3 separate regions of the Homo sapiens genome follow, and all the other regions are linked to region 1. Evidence: promoter capture Hi-C in 16 types of primary human blood cells and fetal thymus (Javierre and others, 2016). All regions are on one chromosome and are shown on one strand. Each heading gives the region's core, a stretch centred on a gene start or on the middle of the fragment in contact. The rest is flanking DNA. Distances are from core to core; before and after follow the strand shown.

Evidence for each region. Contacts are between HindIII fragments. The CHiCAGO score rates a contact against its expected background, and 5 or more counts as called.
Region 2: the fragment with the promoter of TBC1D10A here is called in contact with the fragment with the promoter of PES1 in region 1 in 1 of 17 cell types (naive CD8 T cells); the score reaches 6.0 in naive CD8 T cells.
Region 3: a contact is called between the fragment with the promoter of MORC2-AS1 here and the fragment with the promoter of PES1 in region 1, in 1 of 17 cell types (endothelial precursors). The highest score is 6.4, in endothelial precursors.

What each region holds. Positions count from the first base shown.
Region 1 is chr22:30,590,408-30,594,054 of GRCh38, forward strand. It overlaps PES1 (pescadillo ribosomal biogenesis factor 1), which reads right to left and starts at 1,503. Exons shown (of 15, transcript NM_014303.4): 1 at 1,403-1,503. The coding sequence starts at 1,426. RefSeq lists enhancers at 1,331-2,046, 1,526-1,825, 2,046-2,125. The HindIII fragment of the contact is 19,848 bases long and covers 781-3,647 here.
Region 2 is chr22:30,325,319-30,328,733 of GRCh38, forward strand. It overlaps TBC1D10A (TBC1 domain family member 10A), which reads right to left and starts at 1,623. Exons shown (of 9, transcript NM_031937.3): 1 at 1,355-1,623. The coding sequence starts at 1,563. RefSeq lists an enhancer at 30-979 and silencers at 1,196-1,245, 1,546-1,875. The HindIII fragment of the contact is 3,707 bases long and covers 1-2,754 here.
Region 3 is chr22:30,920,551-30,923,816 of GRCh38, forward strand. It overlaps MORC2-AS1 (MORC2 antisense RNA 1), which reads left to right and starts at 1,758. Exons shown (of 2, transcript NR_026920.1): 1 at 1,758-1,965. LOC107985544 (a long non-coding RNA gene) reads right to left here and starts at 1,229. Exons shown (of 3, transcript NR_146603.1): 1 at 1,038-1,229. The HindIII fragment of the contact is 12,308 bases long and covers 1-3,266 here.

The DNA of each region.
Region 1 (3,647 bases), core at 253-2,752:
CAGGTACGTTTACTAATAACATCATAGTCATGAAACATACCCTTCATTCATTCTTTCCTTTAGACATTAATTGTCTATTAGGTATTAGGCCCATGCTAAGTCTTGGAGGTATAAAGATGAGTTTCAGACTGCCTTAAGAAGTTGAGTTTTCATTTATAGCGTTTTCCATTACCTTATGCCACACTTATCTCTGTCACCATGCTTATCCTTATAAATGTTAAGGGAATAAATAGTTCTCAATGGGGTACTCCCTGGGTATGTGCTGGGGGGAGGAGAGTTCAGCAATGTTTGGAGACATTTTTGGTTGCTGGGTGCTACTGGTATCCAGTAGGTAAAGGATCAGGGATGTTGCCAAATATCCTACTACACACAAGACAATCCTTCCCACAACAAAGACTCATCTTTGTTGATTCTGGCTCTGAAACCCAGCTTTTAAAAACTGTAACGATTTTGTTACATATCTACATCTGCAACTCAAGGGCAGGTTTTCCATCTTGTATCTTTGCAGTTCCGATGGCTAGCACTGGATACTCAATGTAGTGTGTTGGGTTAAGAACACTGGCAATAGAAACTTTCACTCTGAAAGAAACACTTAAGCCAACTATATATTCCTCATTCCCATTCCCTTCCCAGTCTTTTCATGTCACTGGGCCGATTCTCCATACAGCCACAAGAACTCCCTGAAAAACTCTAATCGTGTTACTCCTCCTTTTTTTCCTACTGCACGTAGAATAAAATCCAAGCTCTACACTATTCCTACTGCACTTAGAATAAAATCCAAGCTTACAGGCCTTGCACGATACAGTACGTGTCCAACCCCAATCTTATCAGATGCCATTCTTTTCTTGGTTTACATGCGAGTCATCCTAATGTCCTTCCAACTCCTTACACACAGCAAGCCTTCCCTGCCTACTGATCTTGGCACTTGGTTTCCCTTGTCAGGCCTGCTCGCTAAGCACTCCCATGCCCCAGAACCCATCCAAGACGTTCTGATCTTTCCCATTTCAGCCGAAATGTTATGCCTCGAAGAGAACTTCCAAGACAACACTAACCAACTAATGTAACGGTGCAGTAACGGTGAGCTCTACGTAATGTTTATCACCCTTTCGGTAAATAGTGGTCCCACGGCTCGGCCTGCTTTTGGAATGAAGCTACGCTTGGTAAGTTCAACTCTCTTTCACAGCCCTCTCCACAGAAAGAACTCTGGAGTTCGTTCTCGGATTTCACTAAACGAATACTGCCATCCTTGTCCATTCTCGGACCCCTTCTCGCAGCTGATTACGGTCACGTCGATCCCGTCTTTCCAGTCTCCACGAGACGGAGCCCGGGAAAAGAGTCGACCCCATGCTCTGCCGCCCCCGCACCCCACCCCTCGGGAATCCCCACCGTCTTTCCCAATCACCTTCTTCTTCTCAAGGCCTCCCATCGCTCCACGTTGAGGAGCCGACTAGGGCCGCGCGTACAGGGAGCTCCACTTCCTCCCGCACGTGCCCTGCCAAGGACCCCGAGGACCCTCCCCACCCCACGCTGTCTGTTTGTGCGGGCTGCCCAATGAGATGCCTGTACAAGTCCAGGGAAAGATGGGGATTTCCTCCTCAAGATTTAAAACTATAGTCTGAAAAAAATCACTGAGAACACTCTTTCCAGATCTTTCCCGCTCACAATGGTTACAAACACTTTAAGTGTTAAAACAAACGTGGATATACAGGCTTTTCTGTAATCACCCTGATGACGATTCATTGACTGTGAGCCTCGTTGCATGTTGGGACGGAGAGGGGCGGAAGGCTTAGGGACAGCGCGGTGCCTTCTGGGATGCAGAGGGGCGCCGCACTCCATGGTGCGCGATAGGATTGCGTTGTCAAGGTAACGGTTGCTAAGCGTCGTCAGACTTCGGCTGCCGCTGCTGAGAAGCGGTTCCCGAGGGGCAGGGTGAGACTGCGCTGAGTTCCCACCGGCTTCGGGTTCTCTTTGGTTCATTCGCGGTTATGCGGCTAAAATAGAAAAAAGGAAGACATTTTTCCTCGCGGAGGTATAGAGATCCTAGAGGCCACTTATATTTTCTGAGCCTTAGTGGTGGACTCGTGGTATATTTAAAATGTACATTCAAGGCTGGGAGCGGTGGCGCACGCCTGTAATCCCAGCACTTTGGGAGGCCAAGACAGGCGGATCATCTGAGGTCAGGAGTTCGAGACCAGTGTGACCAATATAGTGAAACCCCGTCTCTGCTAAAAATACAAAAATTAGCTGGCCATGGTGGCACACGCCTGTAATCCCAGCTACTCGGGAGGCTGACGCAGGAGAATCGCTTGAACCTGGGAGGCAGAGGTTGCAGTGAGCCGAGATCTTGCCACTGCACTCCAGCCTGGGCGACAGAGTGAGACTCCATCTCAAAAATAAATAAATAAATAAAATTAAATGTACATTCAACATATTCGAGCTTTTAATTTGTACACATAAATTCTGTAAGTGTTCCTCAAATAATAATTCCAAGATTTATACAAATAGTCACATCACCTTGAGATGGTGCAGTCTGGAAGTAGATGCAATTTTAAGAGGTTTTTTTTTTTTTAAACGTTTCTCCCTTTTTCCAAATTCCAAATTTCGTTCGAAGATGATCTCAAAAGTTTAAATTTGAGGCTCTTGTGAATGTGACCTGGCCCAAGGACTTGGTCTTAGAACTTACACAGAGACAGACGTTAAGCACTGGTGAATACTTGTTTTGAACTATGTGACTTGCACTATCTAATTTAAAGCTAAAATTTAAAACCCAGCAATTCCACAGTTAAAAATGAGATGAAGCCGGGCACGGTCGCTCACACCTGTAATCCCAGCACTTTGAGAGGCTGAGGCAGGCGGATCACCTGAGATCAGGAGTTTGAGACCAGCCTGGCCAACATGGCGAAAACCCATCTCTACCAAAAATACAAAAATTAGCCGGGTGTGGTGGCAGGCACCTGTAACCCCAGCTAGTTGGGAGGCTGAGGCAGGAGAATTTATTGAACCCAGGAGGTAGATGTTGCAGTGAGCCAAGATTGTGCCACTGCACTCTGCACTCAAGCCTAGACGACAGAGCGAGGCTCCATCTCAAAAAAAAAAAGAAGAAGAAGGAAAGGGATGGACTGGAGAGGGTGGCAGTGGCTGGCTCATGAGGGCAACACAGGAACAGGGCTGGTGTCGTGAGCATGTGGCCTGGGCAGTCATCTCACCCTGTCCCTCACAAATCACCTAGCTCGTCCTGCACAGATAGAACCATGTTTGCAGAAAGTTGAGCCTTGTTTTGCTCACATTAATGTTGAGGGGTCACTGGAAGACACAGGTGGGGATGTTCAGGGAAGCAATTGTAATTTCAGCTCAAAATAGCCGTCATATAGGTACCACATTTCACAAGGGAGGAAACTAAGTCTCAGGAAAGTAAGTGATCGCTGAAGATCACTCAGCTGCTAAGCTGTGCAGAATAGATTCTCACCAAGCAGTCTGGTTTCAGAGTCCTCTGCTAAACTCACATTCCACTACCTAACGTATAGTAGAAAGAATGTTATGTGACTCCAGGATAATGCCAGGTAGATTTTTGTTCCATAAAGGGAAGAGGTTTTTAACCATTAGGGCTGCCCACACACAGAATGCTTTGTGCAATACCAAGCCTCCAT
Region 2 (3,415 bases), core at 373-2,872, 260 kb before region 1:
TAGGGCTGGGGAAAATCCCGGAAGTGACAGGGGTTCTTAGACAGTTAAAGCGCTTCCATAAGTCATGAGAGAGTCTGGGGTGACCTTGGACAATCTCAATTGGTCAGAGAAAGGGAGAAAGGATATTCTCTGGAGTAGGGTCATGGCAGGGCCCCAGGAGCTCCTACTGGTGATTGGGATGGAAAGCACACATCAGGAGGGAGTCTTGTCAGTTCTGTGCACAACACTGGTCTCACGTGACAGGACAGCTGGGATGGGAGTGGGGTATGGAGTCCATCTTTCCTAAGGGGACCGCCAGCCTGTACACATGATCTCTGAGGCCTGGGCTCGGGGGATTCTGTGGGGCAACATGGGGCCCAGCTTGGAGGCAAGGTGCTGTTCCACTGCCCCACATTTCTCTGTCTGCTAGCTGGGTGTCTGGGTGCTCTCGGGATAGGACATCGGGGGGTGCTAATATGAGCAGGGACCCTGCTGTCTCCCTGCCTGCCCCCGTCCCACGCCCAAGATCTGCCCTTGGGAGGAGGCGCATACATACACAGGACATACACAGAGCCCATCTACTGGCTCCTGTGGCTGCTGGAGCTGATGGTCTGTCCTAGTGGTGGGGCTCCCTGTCGCCCTGTACGTGCTGGGAAGGGGGAGTACCTGCCCACCTGTTGCCAGTGCCAGTGGAGGAAGCTGTGTATGAGCGGATAGGGGGCCCTTCTCCGACCCTTCCATGAGGAGAAGGGACTGTCTGTCCCAGGATGGAGCTGAGGGGAGGGAGGTGACCAATGTCTGTCCATCCAGAGGTCTGTATGCCTCGAGGAAAGGGTCAGTCTGTCCTGGGAAGGGGTGGGGGCGGGGCAGTCAGTCCTGAAGTCGGTCTGAGGTCTCCTGGTGTGGGGGCAGTGAGGCGGGGAGACAAGGGCGTCTGTGGGTTTGTGGGAGGGGGAAAGATGGAGAATGAGTGTCTATGGAGGGGGGCGCCAGCCATCTGGGAGCCTGTCGGGGTGGCAGAAACAATCATCCCTAAGGTCTTGGCGGCAGGGGTGGGTTTGGGGCAGTCTGTCATTCTGTTCCACGGCTGGAAGGAGGGCACAGTCGGTCCTTCCTGGGAGCGGGTCAGTCTGTCCGGAGGGTGGAGGTGGCGGGTGGAGGTGTGGGCCCGTCCGCCCCCTGGGTCGGAAGTAGGACTGCGAAGGGGGCGGGTCTAGGAAGGCAGGGGTGGTGGGGGTGGGGCAGGGGAGGGAACGGGGATTAGTGGTCCCTGCCTGGGAGGGGGACGTGTCGGCAAGTCCCGAGGGCGCCTCCGTCCGTGTCGAGGCCCCTCGCGTGGGTGGCGCGCTCAGTCCCGACCCCCGGCGCTACTCACGCGCCCTCGGCGCCCTGCGAGCCCACGATGAAGCCGAACTTGTCGATGCGGCGCTCGGCGAAGCCGTTGGCCTCCGAGTCAGACCCGAGAGAGCTGAGTTCGTCGGTGGTTGCGGCGTCGGGGCCCTGGGCCAGGCTCTCCCGGGTTCCCGACAGGCTTTCCCCGGCCGCGGGCGCGCGCGGCCCATTCTCTCCGTTGCTCTTCGCCATCCCAGCCGCGCCCGCCGCCTGAGCTCCAGCGGCCACCTCAGCCGCCCTGCTGCCGCCGACGCCCCGCCCACGCGCGGCGCCTATTGGCCGCCGCAAGGCCGGGGGGCGGGGCTCCAGGCCCACCCCGGAGCTCTCCCCCCACGCCCAATGGGCGCCGCGGACCCCGGGCCCCGCCCACCCTCCCCCGGCGGGCGCCAACAAGCCCGAAGTGAGGGGGCGGGGCAGCCGTCACCGCAGCCCTCCCCGCCCTCCTCCGGGCTGCCAATCACAAGAACTCACCTGGACGAGCTCGGGCCTTTCCGGGTTGGCTCCAAGCGGGGCCTGTCACCTACTGCAGAGCGCGAGCCGGAGGCCCAGGGCTTCCTCCATGGATTCCTCATCTGCCTCCTGAGCCCCGCTCCCTGCGAGACCCCAAGGACGTGGTAGGGATTGTTTGCCCCATTCATTTATGAGGAACTCTGAGGAGGCCCAAGTGAGTTCAGGGACGCAGAGCGGCTTAAAGGCCCAGCCTGAGCCAGAAGTCTGGCAGTCCCATTGCACTCACTGCTTCTGGGGCTTTAAATTACCTCGTGAGACCTAATTATTAATAATCACCAGCGTTTACTGAGCCACGCACGCCCGAAGCTCTACCTACTTTCTCCTGTAGTCTTTTCCCCAGCAGTTTTATGGAACATAAACATACCATAAATTCACGTTTAAAGTGTACAATGATTTTTAGCATATTTACAGAGTTGTGCAGCCATCACAACATTCTAATTTTAGAACATTTTCATCACCCCAAAAAGAAACTCCTACCAATTAGCAGTCACTCCGCATCCTGGCTCCCCCAGTCCCTGGCAACCACTAATCTGCTTCCTGTTTCTATAGATGTCCCTTTTCTGGATATTTCATATAAATGGAATTATACAATATATGGCCTTTTATGTCTGGATTCTTTCTCTTGAACATTTTCAAGTTTCATCCACATTGTAGCATGTATCAGTGCTTCTGGATTCACATCTGCCCCAGGTATGTCTGACTCCACCCCTCCCTTTCCTGGGATAGGCCCACACCGCCATGAAAGACCTATACTGCCCCTCCTGGGAGCTGGGACTATACCAGATTTTGTTTTTCCATTCATCAGTGATGGTCATTCGCGTGTTTCTAGTTTTTAGCCATTATGAATAATGCTGCTCTGACCATTCAGGTACAAGCTTTTGTGTGGGGGCCTTATGTTTACATTTCTCTTGGATAGATAAGGAAGAGTGGAATTGCTGGGTCATATGGCAACTGTTTAACCTTTCGAGGAACTGGCAAACTGTTTTCCAAATTGGTTGCAACATGTCTTGTAATCTCTTAGCAATGAGGTATACACCATTATTAGTCCCATTTTACAGTTAAGGAGACTGAGGTAAAGTCAGTTGCCTAAGGTCCCAGAATTAGCTGTGAATATAGCCAGGATTCGAACTTAGCTCTTACCAACTGCCTATATTTGGAGGGATGGGCCGATTTTATCTATATGGGCTTAGCCCCAAGCAGCTGATTTCTGACCCTAGAGATTGTCAACTCTTGGATCTATAATATAATGATAGCTCCTCGCTTATGTCTAGTACTTTATGGTTTACAAGTCACAGTATATTGTCATCTGACACTCCCTGCAGACCTGTGGGAGAGACAGGCCTAGAGAGGGGAAGGGACTGGAAGACTCAGACCTGGCTGCAGGGCCTGGGACAGACTATTCAGGGCCCCAAGGCAAGCCCCAAGAGGGGGTCTTGAGCCTTGAGTGATTTCACCTTGATGCCATGTGGCCTGGACATTCTTGATGGCGTCATTGTACAATCCTCACATTCCATGAGCTTCTGGCTTTCCATAA
Region 3 (3,266 bases), core at 508-3,007, 330 kb after region 1:
ACAAACTAAAGGAAACCCCAACATTTTAAAAGCCACTTGCCGAAACTCTCACCGCTCAACTCTCACATGCGGATTTCCACGCATATCAGAAACAGCCCGGGATCATTATTCAACATTGTTTCAGAGGTTCTAACTAAAGCAAACTGACAAAATAAATTGGTATACTGGCAAATTTGTATCTATAAAAAACAGGCTTATTAAAACTACCAGAATTCCTAAGACAGAAAGTGAATTATATTAAATCATTAGCTTTTCTACATATTAATAATCAATGAGTAATACAGATGGAAAAAAGTATTCCATCACAATAGACAAAAACCATAAAACACTTAGGAATAATTTTAACCAGAAAGTTATAGAACCCGTATAAAGAATTTATAAAATCTTATTGGAGGACCTAAAAGAAGTCTTGAGTAAATGGAAAGCCATTTTTTATCCTCTGGGGGAGGATTAATATCACAAAAATGTCAATGCTCCCAAAACTTCCATTTAAATTTAATGCAATTATAATTTAAATCCCAATGGAACACTTTCTTTTAGGCAGGGATGGGAACGAACTGGATAATGCGATTAAATATTTCATGTGAGAGAATACATTCTAAGACTGGAAAAGCATTTTTTAACAAGTGAGGGAGACTGATCTATTTAGATGCTGATGACGCCCAAAATTATAGTTTCAGCCAGAACCTCACCCCTCACATCAGACTCACTTGTGCAACTGACCACAGATGTCTCCACTGGCGTCTAAGCGGGATCTCAAACTCAACAGGTCCACACCTGTTGGCTCATTTAGTAAGAGGCTCATTTAATAAGTGGGGCTGGAATAAGTTAATTTCCACCTGGGGGCGGGAGACGCTTGACTCTTGCCTTACAGCTTATACTAAAATATATTCCATAAGGACTATAGGTTGTCTAGTAAAAAATAAATAATAAACATTGCAACAAAATGTAAGAGAATATCGGGGGAAGGGGAGAAGAGAGAAGGGGATTGATTTCCCTAAGCATGATAGGAATCCCCAAAACTTTAAAACATTTACCTTTCAACAAACACCATAAACCAAGCCAAGGACAAACGCATAGAAAACGGACTAATGTTAACTAAGTCCAAGAGGCTTCAGGCGCTTGGCCTCGGGTCAAAAGGGAGACATACAGGCTGGCTCTTCCGGGCAAGAGGAAAAACACGCAGCTTCCTTTCCAAGTGTTCTTCCTTTCAGAGATAAAAGCGCCGACCCTAAGGACATCTGTTCAACGAATGTTTTTCCCTAATGACCCCCGGAAAGTTGGAAAGCCGGGGTAGAAAAGATTTCTTCTGCACTTTGACTTAATTAATGCGCAGCAGCTTGCAGGAAAAAAAAAAAATCCTCGCTTCTCTGTTTCGGGTGTGAGTGGGCCATTGCTCTCCCTGTAAGGAGCTACTAGAGACGCTGAGGCAGGAGAATCGCTTGAACCCTGGAGGCGGAGGTTGCAGTGAGGCGAGATGGCGCCACTGCACTCCAGCCTGGGCGACAGAGCGAAACTGTCTCAAAAAAAAAAAAAAAAAAAAAGTAGGGGATTAGAGCTGGCCACGGCTTCCCCAGAAACCTGCAGTTACTGGAGTAGGAAGAGGCCTCGGAGAATCCCTGGAAGCATCTACCTAAAAGACGCGAGGAAACCCCCAAAGGCCACAGGCACCTGCACCAAACCCTGAGTGCCGCAGGAAGCTCGCGAGGCTTCCAAAGCGCATGCGCAGGTCACGGTACGGGCACGTGCGGCGCGCCAGCAAAACCACGCAGGCGTCTTGTCGCTTCCGCCTCGAGCGTGTGGCGGGATTGCGGAAGCCCTCCACAGTTCATAACCGTTGGCTGGTTATGAACCGTTCATAACGGGCGTTAATAACCATACCCTGTTAGACTAAGCATGGTCCACCCGCGAATCCTCTACAGAGATGGCCAAGCGCTGGGGTCGTGGCTGCGTCCTCTAGGCCAGGTGAGAATTTACAACCCACCCTCGGCCACTGTTGTGCTGTGGCCGCTGATGATTAAGCATGAGGAACTCAGAAACTCTGAACCTTCTGACAAACGGGTTCTCCCCTGCCCACCGCGGTGCCCCAAACCCAGCAGGACAGATTGGTTTACATGGTGGGGCATTGGGGAGGACCCAGAGCTTTCAATAAGGGAAGAAATGATGTGGGGAGGGACAGTAAATCAAAGTAGGGGATTAGGCCGGGCGCTGTGGCTCACGTCTGTAATCCCAGCCCTTTGGGAGGCTGAGGCAGATGGATCTCTCGAGACTGGGAGTTCTAGACCAGCCTGGCCAACATGGCGAAACCCCATCTCTACTAAAAATACGAAAATTAGCCGGGCGTGGTGGCGCGCGCCTGTAATTCCAGCTACTAGAGAGGCTGAGGCAGGAGAATCGCTTGAACCCTGGAGGCAGAGGTTGCAATGAGGCAAGATGGCGCCACTGCACTCCAGCCTGGGCTACAGAGCGAGACTGTCTCAAAAAAAAAAAAAAAAAAAAGTAGGGGATTAGAGCTGGCCACAGCTTCCCCAGTAACCTGCAGTTACTGGAGCAGGAAGGGGCCTCGGAGAATCCCTGGAAGCATCTCAACAGAATCCAGAGGGGACAAGAAAAGAGGAGGGATACGTCTGTCGCATCCTTCCCTTCTCATTGATCCAAGTTTGCACTAGTGGTGTGAGCCCTCCTTATCTTCCAGGCCTTGGTGGGCAGCTGTTGACATGTCCAGAACCCCAGGAAGTGCTGAAGGTACCTGCAGTTCAGGCCCCATGGAAGCCCAGACCTCCTTCACCCTTCGGGGACACTGAAATTGGCCAAATGTTTAGGCCATGAGGATGGCTGCTGAGTAAGCCCATAATCCCTACATCGGACACAAGTAAGCAGGTGAAGGCCTACAGGTAGCAGGTAGGGGCCAGTGAATCTTGGAAGCAAAGATTTGGGGGTCAAGAACAGCAGGGAGCTCTGGGCCCCCATCCTAGCTTCAACCAGAGCAGCTCCAGGACTCCTGGCTTTCCATATGGGCTTCTGGATAAATTTTAGGTACTCCTGAGGCTGAATAAGCTGGAAAGCCTCTGCCATCACCCAACTCCGTTATTTTAGAGGAGGAACAGGAGCCAAAATGGGCAGTGACTTGTCTGAGGCCTTGCCAGCTTGAAGAAGGAAATGTCCGCTGAACCCAACAGTGGCCCTGGTAAGGCCTGGTGCATTGCAAGTTACCGGATGAAAATGGTGACTGGCCGGGTGCAGTGGCTCATGCCTGTAATCCCAGC